Linked DNA regions of Homo sapiens: region 1 is linked to region 2. The links are contacts of gene promoters, found by promoter capture Hi-C in blood cells and fetal thymus (Javierre and others, 2016). All regions are on one chromosome and are shown on one strand. Each heading gives the region's core, a stretch centred on a gene start or on the middle of the fragment in contact. The rest is flanking DNA. Distances are from core to core; before and after follow the strand shown. Region 1 holds the start of FLJ13224 (a long non-coding RNA gene). Region 2 holds the start of FAR2 (fatty acyl-CoA reductase 2).

Evidence for each region. Contacts are between HindIII fragments. The CHiCAGO score rates a contact against its expected background, and 5 or more counts as called.
Region 1: the fragment with the promoter of FLJ13224 here is called in contact with the fragment with the promoter of FAR2 in region 2 in 1 of 17 cell types (M0 macrophages); the score reaches 7.0 in M0 macrophages.

What each region holds. Positions count from the first base shown.
Region 1 is chr12:31,323,011-31,325,710 of GRCh38, reverse strand. It overlaps FLJ13224 (a long non-coding RNA gene), which reads right to left and starts at 1,395. Exons shown (of 1, transcript NR_026806.1): 1 at 1-1,395. All of the region lies in intron 1 of SINHCAF (SIN3-HDAC complex associated factor), which reads left to right. RefSeq lists an enhancer at 1-472. The HindIII fragment of the contact is 3,270 bases long and covers 1-2,277 here.
Region 2 is chr12:29,147,976-29,150,758 of GRCh38, reverse strand. It overlaps FAR2 (fatty acyl-CoA reductase 2), which reads right to left and starts at 1,481. Exons shown (of 12, transcript NM_001271783.2): 1 at 1,352-1,481. RefSeq lists silencers at 1,114-1,263, 1,574-1,633. The HindIII fragment of the contact is 9,301 bases long and covers 1-2,783 here.

The DNA.
Region 1 (2,700 bases), core at 146-2,645, 2.2 Mb before region 2:
CGTTGAAGGTGACAATGACTTTTCTCCGCCGCAGTGTTCTCTCGCGGAAAGGAGCCCGGCGGCCGAAAGGCCCGAGAGGAAAGCGACTCGTTGGCCACCGCGCAGCGGCCGGGGTCGGTGCGTCCGCGTGGGCGCGAGGCGCGGGCAGGGTCGGGCGCCGTTGTGAAACCTCGTGGTTTAGTTGACTGCAGCCCTCGGACTAGGGTGGACAATAAACGCCATTCGCTCGGAAACTAAGTTGCCATCCGCTTCCGAGCTGGCGGCCGAGGGTCTTTAAATCGGCCTTTGGGGGTCAGTGCTGGGCTCTGCCGGAGCGCACGCGGCGTGGCGTTGTTTGCTCAACTCCGGAGGGATGCGGATGCGACAATGAGAGCAACACGCGGTCGCTTAAAAACAGCCCGTCTTCCACTCGCCTGCCCTCTTCGGACCGCGCCCAAGAGCCTCTGGTGTCCGGGGTGCTTTCGGAGCCCGAAGTTTTGCTCCCGGTGCGTTCACCTGTAGCGTAGGTGTGGGCGACACCGCGAGGGCTTCCCGTTTATGGGCGGCCGTCCGCGCTGTAAGATGGCCAGGGAAGCCAACTTGGCTGGAGATGGAGGCGGCGGCGTTGTGTACGCCGCGGGAGTCAGTGAACTCCGCAGGGCACTGCTTTTTGTGCTCTACGTGACAGACCACGTGCTTCGGGCTGCGACCCTGGTCCTTGTCCGAATGTCCAGCCCCGCGTGAGCCGTGGGATGCGGCCGCCGTCGGGCAGGTCCGGCCGGCAGGACAATGTGGTTTGCTGATGATGGCGTCTTGCCAGTTTAAAAAGCAGAGTGAAAGTCGCCAACTCTCCGCCCGTGCGGGGCGGATACTCCGGGCGTTTCTCATCAAGGACACTGCAAAACTTTGATTAAATGGGCCTGCTCCCGAGGGGAGGGTCGGGGGGCCAGGCTCCGGACTCTTCGGGGCGCGGGGTCCGGACCCCTACCCAGGGTGATCGTCCAGTGTCCGGCCCCTGCGAAACGCTCCGACATCCCTGATGCTGCACGTAGGCAGCGCCCGGCTGGACAGAAAACAAAGGGCTGCATGTGCCCGTGCGGGCCCCCGGCGCTCGGGGCCGCCGCCTGGGCGTAGGGCCGTGCAGGTCGGAGGCCCTCGAAGTTCGGGCGAGTTTCGGGAGGGGCTTTTGTCCCTCAGCCCCCTCGTGGGGAAACTTTGGCGGCGCTACTTGTGCGAGGTGCCATGCTGGTGCGTAGGGAGGCGGCGTGCTTCCCCGCTCCGGGCGTGCGGGCGGGCGACCGAGGGAGGCGGCAGTGCCCGGCGCTTCAGCCCTGGCGTCGGGGGTTGCGACGGCCGAGGGTTCCGGGGAGCTTGGCCCGGACTGCTCGGCCGGTTTCTCGTGGCCCGGGAGCCTGTGTCTGGGAGGTCTGTGGGTTCGCCTTTGAAGTCGAACTGTTGCCATGTTTGAATTACGTCAGGGCAAAGCCATGAGGAGGAACAAGCCCCGGCAGCGCGGCGTGCGGGAGGCGCGGCCTGCGGGAGGCGCCGGGCCGGGCTGGCGCGGGGCCCGTTGTTCCGGCGCAGGTGAGGGAGGTGGCGGCGAGCGACGCGGTTCACCTCCCGCTGCCCTCGCCCTCGCCCCGGCGAGCGGCCCCCGCAGGAACTTTCCTCCCGACGCGAGATGTCTTATTTACCAACAAATCCACCAGGGAGCATTCTTACTTGCTGGCTCGGCGTCTCTCTCGGCAGTCACCGGAGTGCCCGAGGGGGAAGCACGATTTACGGAAGGTGGGGACCCGAGGGCCCTGGGAGGAGCGGGGAGGCATTTTACTGCTTTCAGAGAAACGGGTGAGGGCGGCGAGCACCTCCTCCCCAGCCGAGCTGTGGCCCGCAAGTCCAGGGGACCCAGCCCCGACGACGCCCGATAAACCACCGTGGGGAAGTTCCGGGGCTCCCTGTTGCCCTACTAAGGGAAGTGAGGACTGTGGGCGAATTGTGCGTGCGGCCAGTTTCTTTGTGTGTTTCTAGGGGGTGGGGGGAGCGGGGAAGGGCAAGGTTTGTTTTGGTGTAGGGGGAGTTGGTTTCTTGAGGTGGTAGGGCGGTGCAGTTTGTTCTGGTAACTATGACCCTAGTCAGTTTCTTTGTTTTTATTTTCTTCCTGTAACCTTCCATTACTTCAGGCACTCGGAAGATTAGGATTTACTCTTGAGTTAAACAGGGACCCTATCCGAGACAGTTTTACCCCAGCAATTCTTTCTCCCCCTTCTTAAGTTGTCCTAAGGAGGGTTAAGAAAAGCTTTTCTTTTTCTTTTAATAATTTAAAAATGAATTTGACCTTGTTATTCAGAGTACGCTGAAAGCACCTGTTTTTGAACTGGAATTTGCCAGACTTGAAAAGCCTTTTAAAATTTTATGTCGCAAAATTGAACACATTTAGTTGCCCAATCTAAAAGTCTGGGAGTTTGTTTCTGGTGGAGTTTCGGAGAAAACCCTCATGGCATTTAAAGTATTTATATAATGATTTTGGGAAGGGGGATCTTTTTTAGGCGAAAGGTATGCGTGACTCAGTGTTTGGTGGTTATTCAGTGCCTTAGGATGACCTTGAAGAAGCAAATGTTTAGGGAGTTGGGCCTTTTGGAAACATTGTAAGGAGGCTGGGGAGCTGGCTGGGGAGGAAGCTGCTCAGGAAGATGACACAGGGTAACGGCTAGCTTCTTCCCA
Region 2 (2,783 bases), core at 232-2,731:
AGACGTGGATCCTGAGAAATACTACCGATGAAATATTGACACACGCGTCGGCCTGGTAAAAACCTCATGCCCATCTCCTAGAAGTCTCACACACAAATATCCCTTCTGCGGAAATGCCTGCTCTTGCAGTTTAGGTGGCTGCCTTAAGTTTTTATTTAGTCCCTTGCCCCCCTTTCTAAATTTTGGACTAACTACACCTGTCAGTCAAATCTCCAGCTCTTATAAATGGGAATATACAGAGATGGGTAATTGAAACCACGGGGTAATTCTCAAATTTCCATTTGCCCAGTGTCAAATTTCTCTCAACCTAGCAAACAGAAAAGCACGATCTACCTGAATTCCCTGGTCACTTTTCTGACCCTACTCTGTCCTTGCTCATCACATAATGGGGGCACTTTACGTGATTCAACGAGTGGCCAAACTCTTGCAGATCCAGCGATAACCTTGGTTGCTCACACCACATAACTCAACCGTGGAAGAAATGGTGCCACCGCTGGCAGGTGAGACGCCTTCCTCTGGTTTGTAGGATACGATTGGGCATGAATTGTTTTAATAGACTGAGACTGCCCCGCGGGTAATTCTACTTGCTAGGAGTGTTGAGCAGCCTTCCTGCAAGCCATCTACTCCAGTTGGGAGTCTGCTGGCACCTGCTCCCCTGCACACCCCCAGGATGCCCAGGCCGCAGGAAGATGTCTAAAACTTCCTACAGGGGCAAAGCCCGCCCTGGCCTCACCAGTCGCCCCAGCGCGCGTCAGCCACGACCCCGGCGAGGCCCAGGTGGGAGGGTAGGGACGTGCGCAGCCTGGGGTGGGGCTGGGGGCTGGCGAGGACCTGCTCCGGGGACCAGGACTGGGCGCCCTGGCGGTCCCAGGCACCGGGAGGGGACCTAGGACCGCTGCCGTTTCACACGTGGCCCCGGCATTTTCGCGCTCTCTCCAGGAATAGCCCCAAGGGCCCAGGAGGCCTGGGTGGGACTCGGCCCCGCGCCTCTCTTCCCGGGTCCCCAGTCCCCAAGGCGCGGCCCCCCACATTAACCTTGCTGGGTCCTTCCCGGCTTTCTGCCCTTTGCAACCCCCGCGCGCCCCACCTTGGCGGGCTCCGCCGACGCCAACCGCGCGTAAACGGCCGGTGACGATTGGGGTGCAGCCGGGGGCAGCTTCAGGGGGCAGAGCCTCCGCAAATGCTTCTCTCCTCCCACCCGGCCTCACACCCACCCTCCTCGAGGTCCCGCCGGGAACCGCCCCGCCCTGCGAACCCAGCCGAGCCCTCCCTCCTGGGCCACCCCCAGTCCGGTCTCTGCTTTTGGAGCGCGTGGGCTCTGCGAGCGCCAGGGCTGGGGACCCTGGAATACCTGTTCCTCCAGCACGAGGATGGGGTCCAACTAGTGGTCCTCTAAATCCTGCTCCTTCCCCGAGGCTACGGGAAGCGCTCCAGCCACAAGGAAACGGCTCCAGTCTTTCGGCTCCCAAACGTGACACTCTATATATCCGGCTCGGAGACTGGGTGTGGGGCGGGAGGAAACCACCCTCCCTCCGACCTTCCCCGGCTCCGCCGCTGCCTCGGCACTGGGCGCGAAACCGGCGGCAGCCTCAGCCCGGGGCGGGAGGAGGGTGAGGGGCCAGCGAAGGCCCTACAGGTCGCGGGGGCGACAGCATCGTGGGCAGGGCGGCCGCGCGCGCAGGCCCGCCCCGCGCTTCCATTCGTTCAGCACCAGCGGATCCACTGGCTATGACTCCCGCATTTGTGTGGTTTGGGGGAGGGGAGTTGGTTTTGGTTTCGGTGGGTTTGGTTTGTTTGTTTGTTTGGGGCTTTTGTTTTGTTTTGTTTTGGGTTTTGGGGTTGGTTTTTTTCTCCATTTTTTAATCAGTGGGCGAGGGGACAAGGAAGCTAGAAAGGCGCCCCTCTCTGGTGTGGGAAAGGAGAACTCCCACACCGTGAAAGGTGGCGGGGTAGGGGGGTGGAGGGAGAGACCGAGACAGGAGAGAGATTCAAAGGTTCTAGTCTGAACTGAACGCTTGGGGGACATACCTTTCCCCACCCACCCTAGCAGAAAAGGCAGCCAAAAATCCCAGTTTACTCAGCTTGACTACACTGCACATCCCGTGGGAGGGATGCTCTTGTATCTGCTAAAGACATTGCGGAGGCGCCCTGCAGTGACCCACGAACGCAGTGGCTTTTTAAAACCCAAGGGCGTGAGGGTGGAGGGTGATGCGAGGACTTCAGGTGAGGCTTCCTCACACTCGGGGTTTGAAGGGCAGAAATCCGGCTCTGCCTGCCTATGGTGGGGTGGGGGTGGGTAGGAGACTAGAAAGGATCAGAGATGGGGGCCGCAGAAACAGCAGTGAGCCAGCTGTGCTCAGCAGCACTTCTCCGGACTTAAAAGAAAAAAAGATGTTTCATTTCTTAGCCTGGTAGCTTTTTTGGGATTTGGTCATTGTTAAATTTTAAACGGAAAAACAAGCTGCCAGGGAAGCCTTGTAGAGGGATGGACAGGCACGTGAGTGGAGCCCTTGGCCTCAACCAGGAAGTGCTGAAAAACGGCCAACGCCCATCCTAATTCCCTGGACAATGTAGGAGGTAAATTTCCAAATAAATATGGTGTGTTAAGAAAAATAGAAAAGAAATATTGTCCTATAAGCTGTTCTGATTCTCCTCATTATAACAATCCACATGCAATTAAAGAAATAAAATTTGACTTTTGAAAGTTAGAATTAAGGAGTGATTTCATGAAATTAAAATAATAACACCCATCTTGAATTCTCTACTACTGGGCTCTTTAATGA